2 separate regions of the Homo sapiens genome follow, and region 1 is linked to region 2. The links are contacts of gene promoters, found by promoter capture Hi-C in human tissues and cell types (Jung and others, 2019). All regions are on one chromosome and are shown on one strand. The core of a region is centred on a gene start or on the middle of the fragment in contact, and the rest is flanking DNA. Distances in the headings are between cores, read along the strand shown. Region 1 has its middle 22 kb from the start of SCGB1D1. Region 2 holds the start of SCGB1D4 (secretoglobin family 1D member 4).

Evidence for each region. Contacts are between HindIII fragments. The study calls those that stand out against the background at their distance.
Region 1: a fragment that was not itself captured here is called in contact with the fragment with the promoter of SCGB1D4 in region 2 in 1 of the 25 tissues and cell types used here (H1 embryonic stem cells).

What each region holds. Positions count from the first base shown.
Region 1 is chr11:62,164,491-62,171,462 of GRCh38, forward strand. It overlaps the pseudogene EEF1DP8. Among named protein-coding and RNA genes, the nearest start is that of SCGB1D1, 22 kb to the right of the region's middle. The HindIII fragment of the contact is 4,245 bases long and covers 1,513-5,757 here.
Region 2 is chr11:62,296,279-62,302,385 of GRCh38, forward strand. SCGB1D4 (secretoglobin family 1D member 4) reads right to left here and starts at 2,797. Exons shown (of 3, transcript NM_206998.2): 1 at 2,678-2,797; 2 at 1,194-1,380; 3 at 3-141. The coding sequence starts at 2,732. The coding sequence ends at 132. The HindIII fragment of the contact is 5,452 bases long and covers 593-6,044 here.

The DNA.
Region 1 (6,972 bases), core at 2,385-4,884, 130 kb before region 2:
TAATTTCAGGTGAACTATTCTACCTATAAAAGAATAGGAGCTAATAGGAGCTCCTATAAAAGAACAGGAGCTAATAACCCATGAAAGCTATGACGGTTTTTTTTTTTTTTGGATCTCTATTCTTCCTGCCAGCTCTGCCCCTGGCCTGGCAGGATTGGTTGAGTGGGGAATTGGTCCTTGAGAATTGGAGTAAGGGATCTTGAGGAATGTGTTTAGTGTCTTTGAGTTGTGATTTGAGAATAACAGAGGCAGGAGCCCTCTGCAGGGCTCCTGTCCTACTTGCCCCTGGGACACTGTAATAAGACAAGTATGGATTATGCCCAGTGAGGACTCCTATAACTAATTATTTAACTCAGAAAGTGCCCCAGAGGTGCTGGGGGTGCAGCAGAAAGGACTGGAGGGGTGCAGCCACTACTGCGGGAATGGTAGGGAAAGGGGCTAGGGGCTAGGGGCTAGAGGCCTTCTGCCCCAGTTATCTTATGTGGTGTTTTTTGTTTTGTTTTGTTTTGTTTTGTTTTGTTAGTTTGTTTGTTTGTTTTTTGAGAAGGAGTCTCGCTCTGTCACCCAGGCTGGAGTGCAGTGGCATGATCTCGGCTCACTGCAACCTCTGCCTCCTGAGTTCAAGCTATTCTCCTGCCTCAGCCTCCCGAGTAGCTGGGCTTACAGGCATCCGCCACCATGCCTGGCTAATTTTTGTGTTTTCAGTAGAGATGGGGTTTCTCCATGTTTGTCGGCCAGGCTGGTCTCGAACTCCTGACCTCAGGTGATCTACCTACCCTCCGCCTCCCAAAGTGCTGGGATTACAGGCTTGAGTGACTGCACCTGGCCCAAGTTATCTTACAGTGTCATTGTTTGCATGTTTGTGATGGCCCTAGACTTAACAGATAGAGAGCAGGCTCTATGGCTTAGAGAAAGACAGAAAACAGACAGTGATTGATTTAGGGTATGTAGGTAATGTGTAAGCCCAGGGCAGTGATGGTGGCTTCATCTGGTCAGAATTTCATCAAAGACACCTCTCGGGGCTAAAAAAGACCAGACTTTTTTTTTCTTTTTTCTTTTTTTTTGCTACTTGGGCAACACTGGCTTGATCTAGGTGACCTCTACGTTCCCTAGATGGACAACTTGTGTGGCCCCCAAACCTCTCCGTCTTACCCCAGTACCCCTTATTATCCTCAGCTACCATGCCACTCTCTTCAATCCCAGCAACCAGTCCTCACCTACTTCTGTAGGAGACCTCCACAGGGAGGAGCCTTACCATGAAGGTGATTGCAGTGTTTTTAATGAAAGGGGCCAAGAAAATGTGGCAATGAGGTCCTGTTCCTACGAGCTCCACTCTCCGGATTGAGACAGTGACACTTGTGGGAGCAGGACCCACTGAGGCCCAGTCCGAGGGCTCAGGTGGGAGAGCATCCACTGTGGCACTGCCGCGCTCGGGACCAGGGGCTGCTGGCCTTCAACAGTTGTGTCTCACGTTCTACTGAAGCAGATTGAGGAGAGTGACTCGGGCAGAGAATGCAGGGTGTTCTCTGTCTCCCTCCAGTAGACTAAGGCGTGTTAGTCTACATGAGGTCAACATGCAGACTGCAATGCAGGGAATCCTCTCTCATTCCTCGGGTAGGAGGGCAGGGCTGGGAATTACAACAGGGACCTCCCCTAATTGTCCGCCACCTGCCTGGAGTCACTTAGCAAAAAATAAAAATAATAAAAATCTGTGTTTGGCCCTGATGTGGACTCTACAGCTCCTTTTGCCACTCCCTGTGTCAGGGCCAAGGAGATGGGGTTTGTTGTCCAGCTCTGTCTAACCACTTCCCGGGGAATAGTCTGGGAATATGGATGACAACCTTTAATCGCAAAGTGCCTACTGTGTGTGAGGCACTGGGCGAGTTGAGTTGCGTTGGCCATAACCTTCAATCGCATTTGCTGATTGAGGGGTGATATTATCTTCATCTTCATTTTAAGTCTCTGGAAAGTGACACTCAAAGAGTTAAAGCAACCTCAAGCCCAAGGTTGTGTGGAGTGTGCAGTCGGGCAGGAAGCTCCACTGGACTTCGAAGGTGTTGCTCTAAGGCAAGCCTGCTACGACGCATGTCAAGACATCAGAAATGTTAAGAGGCTTCCCTCCATTGCCTCTTGTTGGCCAAAAGCACCCAGACTTTTCTGATGCCAGTGGGGACTTCCCAGTCCTTGCCCTGGCAAAGTAGGGCCCTCTCCCAGACTGCTATTTCCCACCCGGGGTTTCTGGTCCCTGGCCGCAGGACGTGGGATCTGGTATCACTGATGGAGCTGTACAGATGACATGTCCCAGAAGTGCAGGGAATTGAAGTTCATGGGGTGAACTTTGGCCAATGGGAAACAGGAGGCAGGAGGGGTCTGGGCAGGTGAATTCTGCCAGCTTTGTCTCTGATGCTGGACCCCGGCATTGTTTCTCCTTGCCGCCTATGTGGAGAAATCCCACCTGCTGAGCAAACGACTGTGTCTCTTGATGCCTAGGTGTAAAATAACCATCACTTCACATTTTCTTCATATCTGTCCTGTCTCACTTCCCTTTTGTCAGGTTCCTGTGAGGCCAGGGGAGATCTGGTGGGACAGGGAGAACAGCAGGGGTACACAGGGTCCTGGGGTTTGGCAGAGAAAGGGAGTGGCCAAAGGAGCTGTAGAGTACGTGAGGGTCAAACACAGAGTTGTATTATTTTTACTTTTTGCTAAGCACCTCTAGGCAGCTGGGGGACTTTCGGGGCTCTGTAACTTTGGATATTGGGAACTTTACTGGTCAGGCCCTAATGACCAGATTCTCATACCTGAGCTGCACATTGATAAGGCACAGTGAAGTGGATATCCCGCCCTTTGGGCCTCCAGGCCAGTTCCTCTTGGGAACTGCCCAGGACTCTCGTTCTGCCCAGGACTGAGCCCTGACTCAGGATGTCACTGTTAGAGAGAAGGGCAGAGAGGGGCTCACTACCGTTGACTGTTGCTGTTTTCTGCTTAGCTGGCTGGATATCCACCTCCTCTTTGAACTTCTTCAGACCCTCAAAATCAGCACCCTTGAAATCAGGGTCCTTGAAATCAGGAGTCTCAACACTGGGAGAGGACCCAAAAGGACCAGTAGCAGCTGGGAAGTCAGCTCTGGAGCCCTCAAAGAAGCTTTGCTTGACTCAACTACCTTTTTGCACATGGAGGTGGGAAGAAAAGAGTTAGGCACATTTATCATGATGGGGGAATGGCCATTGTGCCTTGTCCAGGGAACAATGCACACAGAGCATGAGCCCACCTGTGCAGCAAGATGCTGATATCCAGGTATCTGTGTCTGGATGGATGGGAAAAGACTTGACCCCATGAGCCCAGCAAGTTAACACTGGTTGTATATGGGTGACTTCTATGGGCTTTTCTTTATTTCCCCAAATTTATTTTATTTATTTATTTAGAGACAGGGTTTCACTTCAGTTGCCCAGGCGGGAATGCAGGGGCATGATCACGGCTCGTTGTGGCCTCAACCTCCCAGGCTCAAGCAATCTTCCTGCCTCATTTTTTTGATTTTTTGTAGAGATGAGGTCTCACTATGTCACTGAGGCTGGTCTCCAACCCCTGGGCTCAAGTGATCCCCCTGCCTCAGCTTCCCAAAGTGCTGGGATTACAGGCATGAGCCATTGCACCCAACCCTGTATTTCCCAAAATTTCTAAAGAATGGCGGGCACAGTTTGAGACCAGCCTGAGTGACATAACAAGACCCTGTCTGTATTTATTAAAACAAACAAAATAATAAAGTCTCCAAGACACACAGGCTTGCCTAATAACTTTAATTTGTTTGGAAAAGCCCTGCCCTCTAAGTGAAAAGCTGTCACATGAAAAAAATATTGCCATTACTTTGTTCAATTCTTTTATTGCAGTAAAATACACAAAACATGAAAATTACCATCTTAATCGTTTTTTTAAATAATTTTAAAATGTATATATCAGTGGTATTAAATACATTTTGTAATTTTGTGCAACCATTACTGCCATCTATCTCCAGAGTGCTTTTCATCTTGCAAAACTGAAAAGTTATACCCATTAAACAATAATTTCCTATTCCTCCCTCCCCCGTCCCCTGGCAATCACCATTCTACTCTCTGTTTCTATGATTTTGACTATTTTACATACATATAAGTGGAATCATACGTTATTTGTCTTTTTTTATGTAACTGACTTATTGCACTTAACATGTCTTCAAGATTTATTCATGTTGTAGCATGTAGTTTTCCTTCCTTTTTAAGGCTAGATAATATTCCCTTGTATGTATGTACTATATTTTGATTATTCATGTGTCTGTTGATGGACACTTGGGTTGCTTCTGTGTTTTATTGTGAATAATGCTGCTGTGAACATGGATGTACAAATCTTTTTTTGAGACTCTGCTTTCAATTATTTTGTGTATACCCTGAAGGGGAATTGCTGGATCATGTGGTAACTCTATTTTTACTCTATTTCTGGCCTTTCTATTTTATTCCATTGGTCTACATGGCTGTCTTTATGCCAGTACCACATTGTTTTGATTACTGTCACTTTGTAGCAAGTTCTCCAGCTTTGTTCCGTCTTTTCAAGATTGCTTTCACTATTTGGGGTTCCTTGATATTCCATATGGATTTTATAATTGTTTTTTCTATTTCTGGAAAAACCATTTTTGGGATTTTGATAGGGATTGCATTGAATCTTTGGGTAGTATTGACATCTTAACAACATTAAGTCTTCTGTTCTCTTGCCTCAGGCGTCCCACGTCCACCGATTCCTCCTCCCTCGTTGCTGAGTCCTTGGCTGGCATCAGAAAAATGGCTACAAACTTCTCAGTATATGAGAAGATCTGGTTTGACAAGTTCAAATATGACATTGCAGAAAGGAGATTGTACGAGCAAATGAACGGGCCTGTGGCCAGCACCTCCCGCCAGAAGAATGGCGCCAGCGTGATCCTCCATGACATTGCGAGAGCCAGAGAGAACATCCAGAAATCCCTGGCCAGAAGCTCAGGCCCCAGGGTCTCCAGCGGCCCCAACGGAGAACACAGCGAGCTTGTTGTCCTGATCGCCAGTCTGGAAGTGGAGAACCAGAGGCTGAGCAGCGTGGTGCAGGAGCTGCAGCAGGCCATGTCCAGGCTGGAGGCCCAGCTGAACGTGCTGGAGAAGAGCTCTGCTGGCCACCGGGCCACAGTCCCTCAGACCCAGCACGTGTCTCCCATGTGCCAAGTGGAGCCCTGGCCAAGAAGCCAACCACACCAGCAGAGGATGACAAGGGCAATGACATTGACCTTTTTGGCAGCAACAATGAGGAGGAGGACGAGGAGGCAGCACAGCTGCGGGAGGAATGGCTGCCATTTCCCCCAGTAATTAGAAAAGCCTTATTGTGAGGTTTTTGATACCTTTTTATAGTTTTATGTTGTCATCTTTGTTTTAAGGAATATGTGAAGTTGTTTCAAAATTGGGAACAAGAATTGTCACATTCTTTTGTTTTTTCTTCATATTTTCTCCATATTTTTCTTGTTTTCCTCTTTTGCCCTCCAGTCCTGGGAGGAAAGTAAGTGTCATGGGTGAGGACTTTCCACTTCCTGGACCATTGGAGTCTCTGGGACCATCCACAGTCCCTAAGCCTGGGAAAGTGCTCTGTTCTTTAGCATATTAAAAATGGCCCTAGCCTGTCCTTAAATGACTCTAGAGGGGTCATTCAAGTGCATGTTTGTATGTGGAAAGATGATTAATATGTCACATATGGCTTAAAGGAGCCAGCAGGATCTTGAGACACAGTAAAAATATCCCCCCGCCACCCTTCAGAGGTGGGGAATTTTGATTCCTCCCTGGTAAATCTCTGTCAAATTACTAATTATTGATCTCTGATAATTACCAATTATTGATCCCTAACTCATGACTGTCTCCTTTACAGCTGGTGAGCAAGCCACTGATTCTAGACTTTCATGACTTTCTGATGACTTCCTGATGACTTCCTACTGACCAAATGATAAACCGCTCAGAATTTCCTGTCTGCACTGTGTGGGATAGTGTCCCCTGAGCCACCTTCTTTCTCAAATTGCTGTTATATTGTCTTAATCCACAAGGAAGGTCTTGTGTGAACATATGTATACATCCAGAGTGTTCTGGTAGAATTATAGCTCCCCTTGCACTAAGGGGTGCCCGGGGCACTTACATGATGTGTACTTGTTGTTAACCACCGCTCCCCAGGGGCTGGATCTTATCCCCTGTGCATAATCAGAAGCAGTTTCCCTAGTCTTGGTTCACCTGGTTGCAGTTCTCACCCTCTTCCTAGGAGTCCACTCTGCTGAGTTCCCATCAGGTCTTCTTCTGCACTGACTCTATGCCAGGTAGCTGGAGGTTAGACTGTTCCTTCAGCCTAGGTACTTTCTTTCTTCACCTCTTCATCATGTCCTCCAAAAAGCCTCCTATGTATAGGTTGGTTTACGTGGCCATTTTTTTTTTCTTTCTTTCTTTCTTTTGTTTTGTTTTGTTTTTTTTGTTTGTTTGTTTTTTGAGACGGGGTCTGGCTCTATCACCCAGGCTGGAGTGCAGTGGTGCGATCTCGTCTCACTGCAACCTCTGCCTCCCAGGCTCAAGCGATTCTCCTGCCTCAGCCTCCAGAGTAGCTGGGATTATAGGCGCGCGCCATCAGGCCTGGCTAATTTTTGTATTTTTAGTAGAGACAGGGTTTCACCATGTTGGTCAGGCTGGTCTCGAACTCCTGACCTCGGTGATCCACCCGCCTCGGCCTCCCAAAGTGCTGGGATGACAGGCGTGAGCCACAGCGCCCGGCCCGTTTTATTCTTTTAATTACCAAAGGCTGGCCTGTAGTAGGAGATGTCTGATGAGTTTTTCTTAAATTGAACGCCAACAATAAGGTTTGAGCCTCAAGGTGGCGCCATTTCATGTAGAGTCTGGAATCTCTGAACACTTGAAATAGACCATCCGTCACTAGCAGGAGCCCTTGCGTTCCGTTCCT
Region 2 (6,107 bases), core at 1,547-4,046:
TGTGCAGGGCAAGTGATTTATTAAAGCAACGTGTTGAAACCTTTACAATTTTTAGTGAAGATCAGGGTGTCGTTGAAAGACTTTGGAAACCAGGTTGAGCATTTTTACATGTCACACACCACATTTTTTCACTATTTCCACCTGAAATCAAAAAAAAGAAAGAAAGAAAGAAAGGTGAGGTCAGTCATGCTGCTGCTGGTGATGATAGGCTAACATCAAAGAGGCCAATGGGATTTTGCCCCAATGGCAATTGGAAAGGCAGAGGCAAGAATTCAGTTTGGGAAACTGAGGCCTAGACCTGGTGGCCTTACAACACCCATTCTGGTGAGAAAGCAGCCTTTCCCCACCAGACCAATAGACCTGGGAAGACCCAGGAGTTAGGCCCAGGGTTTTCATGGAGGAGGAGGGGAGGGGTTGACAGTGCAGCAAGAGGTTGTTGTCTGGGCTGTCCCAGGTCTGTGGAGTCTCCTGATCCCTGTAATGGGGGACCCAGGGCTCTGAAGCCAGGCAGGGCAGGGAGGGCTTCTGGGAAACACACCTTCCAGGAGACTCCAGTCTTCCCATGGGAGAATTCTGCCTAACGGCCAGGGGTCTTATCAGCCCTGACCCTGCAGCTTCTATGGGTATTTGCAGCCAAACCTCAGGACAACAATCCAGAGGCAGCCAGGCTGAGAGGGCCCTGGAATCTCTGATTTCTTGAGAAAGACATAGTGAGAACATCCCACTTGTGTGGCGTTGCAGTAGGTAGAGCAGCGAAAAAGTCTTGGCCCACTGGCTGTGGTCAGGAGAGTGTCATGGATGAGGAGTGGATAGTGGGCCCTGAGGAGCTGCAAGGGGCTCCTGGCTCTGCAGAAGCTGCACAGGAGCCCAGTTCACCAGCACCCTGTCTGTGGGAGGCCCAGCTCTAGGTCCCCTCAAGCCTCCTCTCCCTGTTCAAATCTCCCACACTCCCTGGGACATCCCATAGTGACCGTGTCCACTGCGTGAGGGTAGGTTGACCTCAGGAAAGATCCCAGCAGGGAGGCGGCCGTGCTTGGCCCTTCACCATCCCTGCCTTGGCCCTAGCTCACTCCCCATGTCCTCAGCACACTCTGGGGACACAGCATCCAGGCAGGTGACCTGACAAGAAACATGCAGGAGGCTGTGTGCAGCTGAGTTGAATTCTGCCTCTGCATAAAGGAGAAAGAAATTACCAGGACTTTTTCAATGAGAGTCGTTTCTTAAAAGATATCTGATCGGTGCAGTGCTTCACTTCCAACTTGGCTGCAAGAGCTTCTGGAGGTGGATTAAGTTTGGCAACTTGGAGGTTTACCGCAGCGTCACTTAAGAATAAGAAGACTGTGATCTCAGAAGCAACAGCTGGGCAGACAAGAGCATGGGCTGCAGCACAAAAATAAAAATATTGTTGATGTTAGGAAAGTCGATTTTTCTCTCATGGCTCCCTGAGGTTACACCAGACAGGATCCCCTGGGTTCTATGTTTCTATACCATTATTGTGCTGATGACAATACCAGAAACTCCAGGTGTGACTTTCTCCGGGTCACACAACAAAGGGAAGAGCTTCATATCCTCAGCTAGACTTCTTTTTCTTTTTTTTGAGATAGGTTCACCCAGACTGGAATGCAGTGGCACAATCTCGGCTCACTGCAGCCTGAATGTCTTGGGCTCAAGCGATCCTCCCTCAGCCCCCAAAGTAGCTGAGACTACCAGTGCCTGCCACCATGCCCGCTTTTGTGTGTGTGTGTGTGTGTGTGTGTGTGTGTGTGTGTTTTGTTTTGTTTTTTTTTTTTGTAGAGATGGGGTTTCGCCATGTTGCCCAGGCTGGTGCTGAACTCCTGAGCTCAAGTGATCTGCCCACTGTGGCCTCCCAAAGTGCTAAGATTACAGGAATGAGACACCATGCCTGGCCCACAGCTTGACTCTTGACAACCATAACCTTACTTCATTCTCATAGCCACTCCTGGCAGAAGCTTTAACCACCAGTGATAAGAGGAGGCTCAAGGAGGGTGAGCATTGTGCCCAAGATCAAGGGGTGGGAAGTGTCGAAGCCCAGGTTCACCCCAGACCTCACATTACATCATCTGACACAGATCCCATTCAGAAGTGAAGCTCAGGCAGAAGAATTCCTAACATTTGCCTGAACTGATTTTTCTATAAAACTTCTTAGATACTGGGGATTAGAAGAAATAGCTCTAAGCAGCCAGGCGCAGTAGCTCATGCCTGTTATCCCAGCACTTTAGGAGGCCGAGGCGGGCAGATCATCTGAGGTCGGGAGTTCGAGACCAGCCTGACCAACATGGAGAAACCCCATCTCTACTAAAAATACAAAATTAGCCAGCTGTGGTGGCCCATGCCTGTAATCCCAGCTGCTCAGGAAGGCTGAGGCAGGAGAATCACTTGAACCCCGGAGGCAGAGGTTGCAGTGAGCCAAGATCATGCCACTGCACTCCAGCCTGGGCAACAAGAGCAAAACTTCTCAAAAAAAAAAAAAAAAAAAGGAAGAAGAAAGAAGAAATAGCTCTAACCTTTATGAATCTTATTCAACAAGCACAGAAAAGGGTTTGGAATTTTGTTTGGTTTTGTGCAGACCCCAACCCAAAGCACAAATAGGTGATCTTGTGCTCAGAAGAGGGTGCATCCCAGGGGCTGGTGCTGGACTCATGACTGATGTACTCACCCTGGTAGCAGCAAAGGGCCAGCGAGACCATCAGGAGACACACTGACAGCCTCATGGTGGCTTATTCGGCTGTGAGCTCAGCTTTCACAATGAGTGATTTGGATTCGACTCCAGGAGCCTGTGTAGTCATGGAGGCCAGGGCTATTTGTACCTAGGGAGCCTGGCTGGTCCTACCTACCGGGGCACCTGGTAGGTCATGAGGCCTGGCTCCCAGCCCGCCCTTCCAAGCCAGGGCTGCTGCCGTCCATCAATGTCACCTCCTTAGGAATCTCTGCATCTGAGTGGGGCGGAGCACAAGACAGCAGCCTTGTGAGAACTCTGCTCTGTGCTCCAGGTGAGTGTTCAGGTACATCTGGAAATGTTCCTGGGATCCTCAATTTCCTTATGAGCTTTTGCTGATTAGTTCTTTTTATCTTTGTAGCAGTGCAGGGGCACAGGTGAATTATGGCTTCACAAGGCACAGGAAGCTGGAAGGCTGTGTTCTCTTTATGGGAGAGCAGGGACATAAGGAGACCCTGCTTTGATCCCCCTGCATGTCTGACAACAAGCAGGCTTGTTTCAGTTGCACATTGGGAAAGTCTAATCCTTCCCCTCAGCCCCTTCCATCACCACCATGTTCACTGCATAGGTACTGAAAACATAGTTGAATACATCCCACCTGTAGAAGATATGCTGAGGAAAAACATCTGCTGCACCTGTTCTCTAGCCTGCCTCACTCCCAAACCTGAATCTTGTTTATACGTGCAGTTATATATATGGCCAAGATTCACATTTTCTATCTATAAAAAGCAAGCTTTCTGTGATGTGTAGCCACCCACGTCTTATCTTAGGGCTGATCTGAAGATTAAATAACCTAACTCTTTTTCTCAAGAGCTTTTGGAGTGTTCAGAGCCAATCATACATCAGTGGGGCTCTAGGCTGGGAAGATAATAGAAGGGAAGAGACAGAGGAACAGGGTGGGTGGTCACTTCCCCCTAACCCCTAGGCTCAAGTTTTCCACTTCAAACCTATCTGTGCTGCCTGGGCCAATCCCATTTTTAAGGGAAAGTGAAGGAAGCCCCCAGACAAAGCAATACACACCCGCCTTCCCTCCCATTGCCGTGCCTTCATGTGGTGTGAGTTTAATCACCAGAAATTTTTCTCTTAAATAAACTTACATTTGAGAGGAGTCACAGCCCAGGCCATAGCTTTCCATTCTCAGCTATGTAGTCAAATCACTTGGAGCTTTTAAAACATACTGACCCCACAGGCTTCTCTCTCTGGCGATTTTGATTCAGTAGCATTGGGGTGAATCCCTCCTTTCTGTACTGTTTAAACTGCTCTGGTGTTTCTCACAGACAGCAGGGCTGAGATCCAGCCAGGAAAACCTTTAAGAAGGAAGGGGACCTTACGGGTTTTGTCATCAAAGACACATTGACAGATTTAGTTGAGTCCAAGCTGAGGGCAACAGTGGATCTCACTTTCATCACACAGGATGACGACGGAGTCCCTGAATCAGCCCTGCTGCCACCAAGGAGGGGGAGGGTTGGTGGTGAGGTTTACAGCTATGAGGGTTCAGATCCTCATTTATGGGCTCCTGGACCTTAGGAAAATTATTCAGTTTATGTAACCCCAGTTTTCTCATTTGTCAAAGTAGGCTACTAATGGTGCCTACATCATTGGGTTGATAGATGATCAAATGAGTGTGTTCATGGGTGTGTGTGTGTTTAAAATATACCAAGTTCTGGTACATAGTAGTTCTCAATGTAAACTGCCATTATCTTGTCCCATTTGTCATATATGTCATGGTTTGCCAGTAGTTCCTAGTTTAGAGCACAGCCAAAATCCACTAAATCACCTACTTGCAGAACTACACGGACACCTAGATACACCATTTCTCTTTGACATAAATGGAAAAGGAAACCCAGCTCATGGTCTTGGAGGCTGCAAACCCATGAATATGGGCTTCAGGACTGAGGCCTCTTTTGCAGTAGACAGGTCTGTGAAGCATCCACCCTTTTTGTGGATGAGAGTTTATCCTCACTCAGGCTTGACATTCACCTTGTCATCTGTACAGTCCATTGGGGAGCATGTGTATCTCTGACAGAGGATTGTTTGCGTATACTTTTATTAGTCCTACCACGATTAACACCTATGCAGGGTTTTTTTGTTTTCATCATTGATGCTTTTTATGGCTCCCTCCTTTTTACACAATTGACTCAAGATTTTAGTTTATTCTTTCCATCCATGGACATCGTTGCCTGACCCCGATGACTTGTTCAATACTCCCCTTCATAGACTCTGCTGGAACCATGCACCTCTCATTTGCAGCAATCTCAAGTAACAAGGAATTTAAAAGGATTTTCTTTAAAAGTGCTCAGCTTAATTAAAAGTGGATATGTTCAAGTTATAGGTATATTGAAAAGGTCTTTATGCTTTTCTCTTGTTGAATCTTGTTTTTTGGGAAAAAGGCTCTTTTCTTTTCAATCAACTGAATTATTTTTCTCCATTTTTCATCTTACCATTCTTAATGCAAGCATGAGAAGCCCTAAGATAACTTCTGGTAGCATGGGACTCCTTGGGAAAAACAGAGGAGGCACCACAGACCCCATTTTGGGGAAAAAAAAAAAACTGTTTTCCTCATGAAACCCCCAAAATTAAAAGCAGTTACTTCTCAAAATCAAAGGCTCTGTTCTGTTATGTATTGTGTAATCTACCATTTTGAGTTTTGGGGGTGTCAAATTACTTCACACTATGAGAGAGCTTCGGTGTGTAATAACTAGATAGAAAATTCAATGTTAGGGATGGCTAATAGTAGTTATAATCAAAGAAGCGTGCTCTTGGCCACCTGAAAGATATGGCAACATCCTCACCCCCAACTAAGAGACGAGACTCCCATGGGGAATGGGCTCATTACAGAATAAGCCAATTGGCTTTGGGTTCCCTTGCAGTGAAATACGTGATAGAACCACTACACTGTCTTCTCCCATAGTATCTCCCTCCTTTTAGGGACCCAAGATCAGGTATAAAATGGCACCCTTAATTTTAGGGATCTGCCTTTGCCTTCAGCTGCGTCTGTTTATTAGGTATGCTACATAGCCCTGTTCCTTCAAGGGCTCCACCCTAAAGCCAGTAATCCAATTAAGAGACTACCAAGTGAAAAATCTTACAAGTGCTGAATCTTCTGTTTCTTAGTGTTGCTATATATGTGCTGTGTGTGATGTCTATAAAAAGAGCTCTGATTGATTGGCTTAAAGAAAAATAAGTGCTTCAATCAAATGTTTTAGTTCACATGACTTGAAGAAATAAAAATAGTCTGAAGGATTATTAGTAAAAGGCAAGTGTCATCAAAATGCAAATAGGTTGTCTAAATCATATAATTTAGATACCAGGTTTGCTAAATGTTGCAAGGTCATATACTGCCTGCTTTACACATAGGTAAGGCCTGGGA